Regions from separate parts of the Homo sapiens genome. Here region 2 is linked to region 1. The links are contacts of gene promoters, found by promoter capture Hi-C in human tissues and cell types (Jung and others, 2019). All regions are on one chromosome and are shown on one strand. Each heading gives the region's core, a stretch centred on a gene start or on the middle of the fragment in contact. The rest is flanking DNA. Distances are from core to core; before and after follow the strand shown.

Region 1 (4,545 bases), core at 600-3,099:
GGGTTTCACCATGTTGGCCAGGCTGGTCTTGAACTCCCGATTTCGTGATCTGCCCGCCTCAGCCTCCCAAAGTGCTGGGATTATAGGCAAGAGCCACCGCGCTCGGCCTGTAAACAATTCTAAAAAATCAAAAGAATTGTATTTCACGTTATGTGAAAATTATACGCAAGTCAAATTTCGTGTCCATAATATGGTTTTACTGGAATACTGTCATTCATTTCCATCTCTGTGTCTGCTTTTGCAACACAGGAAAAAGCTAAACAGGTGTGACTGAGACCCTATTGCCAAGAAGGCCTAACATATTTACTATCTGGACTTTACAGAAAAAAACTTGTCAACACTTTCTTTACAATGTGGAGTCGGCACAGAAAATATGTGCCTTCAGAAAAAGAGCGAAAAAAAAGAGAAAAAAAATCTCTGAAACTCATTAATACATTAACTTTGTAATTAACTTCATGGCCATTAACTTTGGTAATAAAAGGTTGCTGATCCCGTCTGCCCAAGCAACACAGACCACAATTTCTACTTTTGATGATTCATGTATTATTTTCACAGACTTCTGATCACTTGTTTTCTTTTTATTATTTATTTATTTTGAGACGGGGTCTGGCTCTGTCGCCCAGGCTGGAGGGCAATGGCGCGATCTCAGCTCTCTGCAAACTCCGCCTCCCGGGTTCAAGCGATTCTTGTGCCTCAGCCTCCTGAGTAGCTGGGATTACAGAGACCGCCACCACGCCCGGCTAATTTTTTGTATTTTTAGTAGAAACGGGGTTTCACCATGTTGGCCAGGCTGGTCTAGAACTCCGCCTCTGCCTCCCAAAGTGCTGAGATTATAGGCGTGAGTCACCGCGCCAAGATATCTTCTATTTGGGAACATTTTGTTGTCAAGTATCCAGCTGGGTACTTCGGGAGTTAAAAACATTAATTAAGGCATGGTCCTGGAGTCAAGTGAGCTTCGGCGAGAAGTTTGCCATGGACAGCATTTCTGGAGCAAACCCTGTAAGAAGGGCTGAATTCTACATGCCGACATTTCATACATTTCTCCTGCATTTCAGGTTGTAAGTGTGCTGCAGCATGACTGATCTGGCCAAATTCTTCCAGTTTCCTCAAGTGCTTTTCCTTTAGTATCGTTCTGAGTGTTTACAAAGAAATGATTTTCCAAAGCACTTGTGAAGCATCTAGTTCGATTGGAACGCAGTGACGGCTCTATAAAATTCAAAGAAAAGAATCTCCCCGCATGAATAGTTAACAAAAATCGCTTGGGCCGAGGTGGCGGGGTTGTAAAAATTAGCTAGTTATATAGTAATCATTTTTCCATAAATTTAAATATCTCTAATTAAAGAAAAAATTGACGTAGAACAAAATCTGCGGGTGTGTGTGTGTGTGTCTCGGAGGGGATTACCTTATCTCCCAGCGCGGTTCTGAACCCTTCCTTCGCTCAGTTCTCCCTTTAAAAGTCGCCAAGTGGAACGCCCGCCCCCGGACCCGCACTTGCCCCCCTATACTCTCCTCCCGGTCCTCCAGACGGAGCCCGCCCGGCCAGGACACGCCAGCCCCTTCCTCGGCCGGTGGGGCCTCGACCCCCGCCGCCTCGAGGAGGCGCGGCGCCTGCAGTCCACGCGGCCGAGAGCGGGTAGCGGGGAGGGCCGCCCACGACGGAGGTTTCTCTGTGGTTACCTCAGCGGCGCTCTTCGCAATCTGAAAGTTGGGGCAGCTGAAGAGCCCCACCACCTTCACCTGCAGCGGCCGCTCCGGCAGCGACGGCGAGCCGCACCTAGCGTGCGGGGGCCCGCACGGCTGCGGCCTTGCCATGGCCGCGCCCGGGGACGCCCGGTGACCCCAAACACTGCGCGTCGCTCCGGCAACCGCGCGGCCCCGCCTCCGCCGCTCGCAGGAGGCGGGGCCCAGGGGCGGGTCGAGGGCGGCCCGTGGCGGCTGGGCCTTTCCTCAACTTTGCGCCTGTTGCTGGGCCGCCGGCGCGCGGGCGGCCGCGACCGCCGGGGACGAGCTTGGAGGAAAAGGAACCGGGAGCCGCCCACCCGGGGGCGCTCTCCGGACCCCCAGGGTCCTAGCGCGCGGCCCTTACCGAGCCTGGGCGCCCGGATTTCGGCAGCGGATCGCCTTTCCGGGTTGGCGGCCCGCCTGATTGGGAACAGCCGGCCGGTTGCCGGGGGAACGCGGGAGTCGGGCCCGACCTGAGCCACGCGGGCTTGGTGCCCACCTGTGCGCGCCGCCTGCGAAGAAGGAACGGTCTGGGGAGAAGGCGCCGCCGGCCGCCCCCGTCCCCACCGCGGCCGTCGCTGGAGAGTTCGAGCCGCCTAGCGCCCCTGGAGCTCCCCAACCATGAAGCCCAACTTCTCCCTGCGACTGCGGATCTTCAACCTCAACTGCTGGTGAGTGCGTCTGCGGAGTGCGGTCTGGGGGCCACCTTCCGTTCGCACCCATGCAGCCTTCCTCCCCCTATCCCGCCCCACGATCTCAGGGTGTAGGGAAAACCCGAACCTCCAAAGTCCACATCTGGCCCCAGCGCCGGTGGTCCCAGCAGTCGCCTCCCCTGCCCCGCTCTTCCCTTCCTTAGGGGCATTCCGTACTTGAGCAAGCACCGGGCCGACCGCATGAGGCGCCTGGGAGACTTTCTGAACCAGGAGAGCTTCGACCTGGCTTTGCTGGAGGAGGTGAGATTGTGCAGCACGGTGCGGAACCCAGGCTGGGAGGAGGGACAGACCGTCCCACTGGGGAAAGACCAAGCAGGCATCCTCACCGCTTCCCTCAGGTGTGGAGTGAGCAGGACTTCCAGTACCTGAGACAGAAGCTGTCACCTACCTACCCAGCTGCACACCACTTCCGGAGGTGAGAAGCCCACTGGCCTGAAGCCTGTTGTCATCCCAGGAGGCTCTTGGCCCTGCCAGCCCTTCCCTATCCTGCCTGCACTCTCCAGTCTCCTCCAGCCTCCTCTCCCTCTGGATGTGAGAGAAGGAGAAGGGTGAACCAAGAAGGTCCTATGACTTCAGCCCATTTCAGCTTTGTTTTCTGGCTGCCCTATACTCCTCCAAAGGCTGTCGCCTTGGTTCTAGGGCTAGTCCCAGCAGTAGAAAAAGAAAAAAATAGCTGATCAGAGCTGGAAGACAAGGGAGGGGAAGAAGGCTGGGTGTCTCTCCCTGTTTTTCTGGTTATTAAGCAGGGCTTGGCTTTCAGCGGAATCATTGGCAGTGGCCTCTGTGTCTTCTCCAAACATCCAATCCAGGAGCTTACCCAGCACATCTACACTCTCAATGGCTACCCCTACATGGTAAGGCAGACCTTTGACCTCTTCCACCTCCCTTCCCCACCTCCAGTAATACAAGGTAGAGGAGGCAGCCCTCTGAGAGCTGCAGGGGATGGGCAGAAAGATGGTGGCGGTGCCCTGAGTTTCTATCTCCTCCTGCCTGCAGATCCATCATGGTGACTGGTTCAGTGGGAAGGCTGTGGGGCTGCTGGTGCTCCATCTAAGTGGCATGGTGCTCAACGCCTATGTGACCCATGTGAGTGAAGCTGGCAGTGCCTAGGGCTGGGACATGCAGCCCAGTCCTGGGACAGAGAGATGGTACTTCTCTAGCTCTCATACCTGGGGATGAGGTGTGGGGGCAAGATCTTATAAGGAAGCAATGGGCAAGGCTTATCCATTGTATACCAAACACCATGCCAAGTGACAGACACAGGCTTGATTCAGACATACCCCTGGGACCCTCAGTCTTATCTGCTGTGATCTCATCTATCTTGCTCAGCTCCATGCCGAATACAATCGACAGAAGGACATCTACCTAGCACATCGTGTGGCCCAAGCTTGGGAATTGGCCCAGTTCATCCAGTGTGTGAGCCTGGGCTTGAAATGGGAAGTGGGATGGGACCCAGGGGCTGAGGGTGAACAAGGCCCCAGTCATGGGGAAGAGCTGGTGATGGAAGAACTCCCGCCTCACCAACCTGGTTCCCCCAGCCACACATCCAAGAAGGCAGACGTGGTTCTGTTGTGTGGAGACCTCAACATGCACCCAGAAGACCTGGGCTGCTGCCTGCTGAAGGAGTGGACAGGGCTTCATGATGCCTATCTTGAAACTCGGGACTTCAAGGTGAGGACTTGCCTGTTACTTCCCCACCTATATCCCCAGCTTCTCTCCCTCCTTCTCCCCCACATCCTAGCATGAGCCAATGATTCCCTTAGGGCTCTGAGGAAGGCAACACAATGGTACCCAAGAACTGCTACGTCAGCCAGCAGGAGCTGAAGCCATTTCCCTTTGGTGTCCGCATTGACTACGTGCTTTACAAGGTCAGGCTCCTCCCTTCAACATGCTTTCATATGCTGTGTCTCTTTGTCTACTAACCTGTGTAGATCCTTTGCTCAGCTAGTCTAGTCTTGGACCACTGATGGGTGGAAAGTGGGGTAGCCGGGAGCTGGTTCTCTGGGAAGAGGCCCTCATATATAAGCTTCTCTCTGGCCCTTACTTTTCCTAGGCAGTTTCTGGGTTTTACATCTCCTGTAAGAGTTTTGAAACCACTACAGGCTTTGAC
Region 2 (4,545 bases), core at 665-3,164, 590 kb after region 1:
GAAAAAAATATTTTTATTAAAAATGTAATGAATATTTACATAATATGAAGAAATTATGATTTATGAAGAAATTGTTGAGATTCATTATTGAGAAATGATACAATCCACACAGAAAAGATATTGTAGCAGGACGAGCCACAGACAAAACTCCTCAGACACTGAGGTAAAGAAGGAAGGGGTTTACTCAGCCGGGAGCATGGGCAAGACTCCTGTCTCAAGAGCTGAGCTCCCCAAGTGAGCAATTCCTGTCCCTTTTAAGGTCTCACAACTCTAAGGGGGGTCCACGTGAGAGGGTCATGATCAATTGAGCAAGCAGGGGGTATGTAACTGGGCTGCATGCACCGGTAATCAGAATGAAACAGAACAAGACAGGGATTTTTACAATGCTTTTCCATACAATGTCTGGAATCTATAGATAACATAACCGGTTAAGTCAGGGGTTGATCTTTAACTACCAGGCCCAGGGCATGGCACCGGGCTGTCTGCCTGTGGATTTCATTCCTGCCTTTTACTTTTTACTTCTTCTTTCTTTGGAGGTAGAAATTGGGCATAAGACAATATGAGGGGTGATCTCCTCCCTTAATATAAGTAGCAAAATACATATGAAAAAATGTTCTGCATCCCACTCCACACAACCAAAAATTCATACGAGGGAGGAACCAAATTGTATGTATTACCATGAACTATTACACAGCCATAAAAAGAACAAAATAATGTCCTTTGCAACAACATGGTTGCAGCTGGAGGCCATTATCCTAAGTGAACTAATGCAGAAACAGAAAACCAAATACCACATGTTCTCACTTATAAGTGGGAAGTAAACATGGGGTACTCATGGACATAAAGATGGCAACAATAAACACTGGGGACTATCAGAGGGGGCAGGGGGAAGGGGCAAGTTTTGAAAAACTAACTATTGGGTACTATGCTTAGTACCTGGGCGACGGGATCATTCATACCCCAAACCTCAGCATCATACAATATACCCAAGTAACAAACCTTCACATGTATCCCCTGAATCTAAAATAAAAGTTGGAAGAAAAATAAAAATAAAAGGAAGAAAGGTTAAAAAGAAAACCCAGATGCATTATGTTAAAAAATTAAATAATAGATTAGCCAAATATAGAAAATCTTATGAAACCCAATGTTGATGAGACTGGTAAAACTTGTGTATTCATATATTGCTAGGTGTTATTGCAATTTGAAGCAGAATTTTGACAATTCGTCAATACATATTAAAAGCCATTAAAATCTTCAAGCCTTTCAACTCTGAAATGCCATCTGAGTAATATATTCCAAAAGAAAAGAATGCTTTACCAAAGCACGATCTATACTTGTGAAGCAACTGGATAAATGTAAGTGTATAAGGAAATAATTAACTAACTTATATATGTAATTAATATTGTCATTTACAAAGACAATTATGAATATGCTTGCATAACATTAAATTTTTGTATGATATATCATTTGGTACAAAAGCAGAATTACAAAATAAGAATGATATATTGTATAGGAATAATTGGGGTAAATTTTTTTCTATTTTATATTATGGCTATTAATGTTATCTTGCCAAAACAATTGAAAAATTAAAAGTTTCATAGCTAATAAATGTATCTTTTAACATTAGGCATTATAGGTATCTCAAAAATATGAAAATATCCGCTCATTTATTTTTTATCTTTTAGTTAAATTACAAAATGGAAGAGATTTCCCCCTAGAATTAACATCTATTTTACCATGATGTTAAACTAGTAAATCTTCTCAAGAATGAAGACTGAAGTGAATGCCAGTCTTCCCCTCAGGCCAACTGGAATACCCTCTCTTCCTCAGATCTGGGGAACCTTTACTAAAATGAGTACTGACCTTTTCACTTCCCTGAGATATCTATCATGCCTAATGCCAGAAGAGCCTTGTATTTAGTAGCTATAAAACTTGTAATTTTTCCTCTGTATGGACAAGATAACATTATTATTCTGGCCCTTAATGCCCTGGAAGAATCCACTGTTCAGCTCTGGGTTCCCACAATCCTTGCAACATCCCAGAGGTTGTCTCTGATCAGTTACACTGGACCCAGAGAAGTCCGTTCCTCTCTGGAATCCACTTCAACAAAGGGATACTCCGGAGGCTCAAGAATATTGAGAATGTGGACTGGATTCAAAATCTACTGGCAAGTTTGTGATTTTCATCTTGGTCAGGAGCTGAAACATCCAACGTTCTGAAGTCATGATATTTCTAATTTACGCATGAGCAAGGATAGAATTTTTGCAAAGTCAAAAACAATAATGGTAGTAAGAAGCATTCAGATTTCCTGACAAATCTCATGTAAGTCCATATCAACAAGTCTTCTTTCTGCCCAACAAATCTCAGAAAAATGATGTGCTAAATATACCATGTGTAGAAACAGGCTTGTTTTTATCTATGGCCACTGTGATTGAACTGTGATTATGTTTCCTTTTTTGCTTCAGTTGCTAGGAGGCTCAGTCAATTTTGCAGCCCACTTCTACTCTTGTATAGGACTTAATGTTAGGTAGCTCTCAGTCCCATTTTGTGCTGCTATAACAGAATACCACAGACTGGGTAATTTATAAATAACAGAAATGTATTTCTCACAGTTATGAAGACTGGGGAGTCCAAGATCAAGGTGTTGGCATCTGGTGTGGGCCTTCTTGCTGCATCCTCACATGGCAGAAGGGCAAGAAAGGAATGAACGTTGTGTCCTCACAGAGGAACAGGAGAGAAAGAACCCATTCCCACAAGCCGTTTTTATAACAGCATTAATCCATAGATGAAGGCAGAGCTCTCATGACCAACTACCTTCCAAAAGGCCCCACCTCCAACACTGCTGTGCTGGAAGTCAAGTTGCCAACACACAAATTTTGGGGGACACATTCAGACCATAGCAGTAGTTATCTTAGTGTTTTTGCCTCACTCTTAGCTTTATCTCTTTTCATTATTTTCCCTTTGTTTCCATTTCCTCAACTGTTTATCTTCTATCCTCTTACAGATAATTTTATAAGCTGATTCCAACCCATTTTTGAAAGAAAGCACACAGATTAATCAGATGTTGGATTATGCTTGTTGCCAGAGTGCCTCTGATTGCATTTCTTTTGACATTAGACAACCCGAAGAGGTGCACCTGGAGACAGGTACCTGGGCCACCCTGGCTGTGTTTGGCATGCTCCCTGATATGCCCTGCTCTAAGAAACCTAACTGTGGGATCAAAGCCATCGCTGATTTGAGCCCTAATAATTTCACCCCCCACAAAAATTAATTAATTTGATCTCTTTAAAAAAGTAGGATATTGGCCGGGCACGGTGGCTTAGGCCTGTAATCCCAGCACTTTGGGAGGCCAAGGTGGGTGGATCACAAGGTCAGGAGATCGACACCATCCTGGCTAACACAGTGAAACCCCGTCTCTACTAAAGATACAAAAAATTAGCCGGGTATGGTTGTGGGCACCTGTAGTCCCAGCTACTCCAGAGGCTGAGGCAGGAGAATGGCGTGAACCGGGTAGGCAGAGGTTGCAGTGAGCCAAGATTGCACCATTGCACTCAAGCCTGGGTGACAAACAAATAATTTCAGCTATTCAAAAAAAAAAGGTAGGATATTAACATTTTTTAAATGCCAACTTTATGCACTGGTTTTGGATTTAGACCTATAAATTTTAACAAAGGTATACACCTGTGGATCAATCACCCCCATTCAGGATATAGCAATTTTCAGCATCACTCCAAAAGTTCCCTTAAGTTCCTTTCCAGTCAATCCTTTGCCCCCATACCCTACCCCATCACCACTTATCTGATCTCTGTCACCATAAATTAGCTTTTTAGAGTTTCATACAAATAAAAGCATATATATTGTCTACATTAGAAGTTGGATTATTGGTACTGTTGAGTAGTAGTCCACTGTATGGATGCTCTACATTTTGTTTAAATATTCATCTGTTAATGGACATTTGTGCTGTTTCCAATCTGGGGCATGTATGAATAAAGCTACTATAAACATTTGCATGAAAATCTTTCTTGCAGGCCTATATTTTCATTTATTTTGGCCAAATATACAGGACTGAAATTGCTGGGTCATATGGTAAGCATATGTTTAATTTCATTAAGAAACTGCCAGACTTTTCCATAATGATAATACCATTTTACACATCCTTCAGCAACGTATGAGTTCCAGTAATTTCAAATCCTTGCTAATGCTTTATATTGTCAGCTTATTTTTCAATGTTAGCCATTCTAGACAGAGTATCATAGCATTTCATTATATATTTAATTTGTATTTCCCTGATGACTAATAACTTTGAGCATCTTTTCATGTGCTTACTGACCTTTTGTATATCTTCCTTTGTGAAATGCTTGTTCAAAGCTTTGCCCATTTTTTCAGTGAGTTTTCATCATCTTCTTGAGTCTTCTGAATGTAAGCCTTTTATTATTTTAGATAGATTTAGATTCACAAAATATTCACAAATATATTTGATAAATACATATATTTAAATATTTGTGAATACAAATAATTTCATTTATATAATATGAAATATAAATA

The links. Contacts are between HindIII fragments. The study calls those that stand out against the background at their distance.
Region 2: a contact is called between a fragment that was not itself captured here and the fragment with the promoter of PPIL6 in region 1, in 1 of the 25 tissues and cell types used here (dorsolateral prefrontal cortex).

The regions. Positions count from the first base shown.
Region 1 is chr6:109,438,779-109,443,323 of GRCh38, forward strand. It overlaps PPIL6 (peptidylprolyl isomerase like 6), which reads right to left and starts at 1,850. Exons shown (of 8, transcript NM_173672.5): 1 at 1,678-1,850. The coding sequence starts at 1,812. SMPD2 (sphingomyelin phosphodiesterase 2) reads left to right here and starts at 1,946. Exons shown (of 10, transcript NM_003080.3): 1 at 1,946-2,393; 2 at 2,579-2,675; 3 at 2,774-2,850; 4 at 3,196-3,289; 5 at 3,432-3,521; 6 at 3,765-3,847; 7 at 3,974-4,106; 8 at 4,199-4,303; 9 at 4,489-4,545. The coding sequence starts at 2,344. RefSeq lists silencers at 1,441-2,260, 1,902-2,107 and enhancers at 2,521-2,590, 2,751-2,830. The HindIII fragment of the contact is 4,118 bases long and covers 24-4,141 here.
Region 2 is chr6:110,025,226-110,029,770 of GRCh38, forward strand. No RefSeq gene overlaps it. Among named protein-coding and RNA genes, the nearest start is that of GPR6, 49 kb to the left of the region's middle. The HindIII fragment of the contact is 6,911 bases long and covers 1-4,545 here.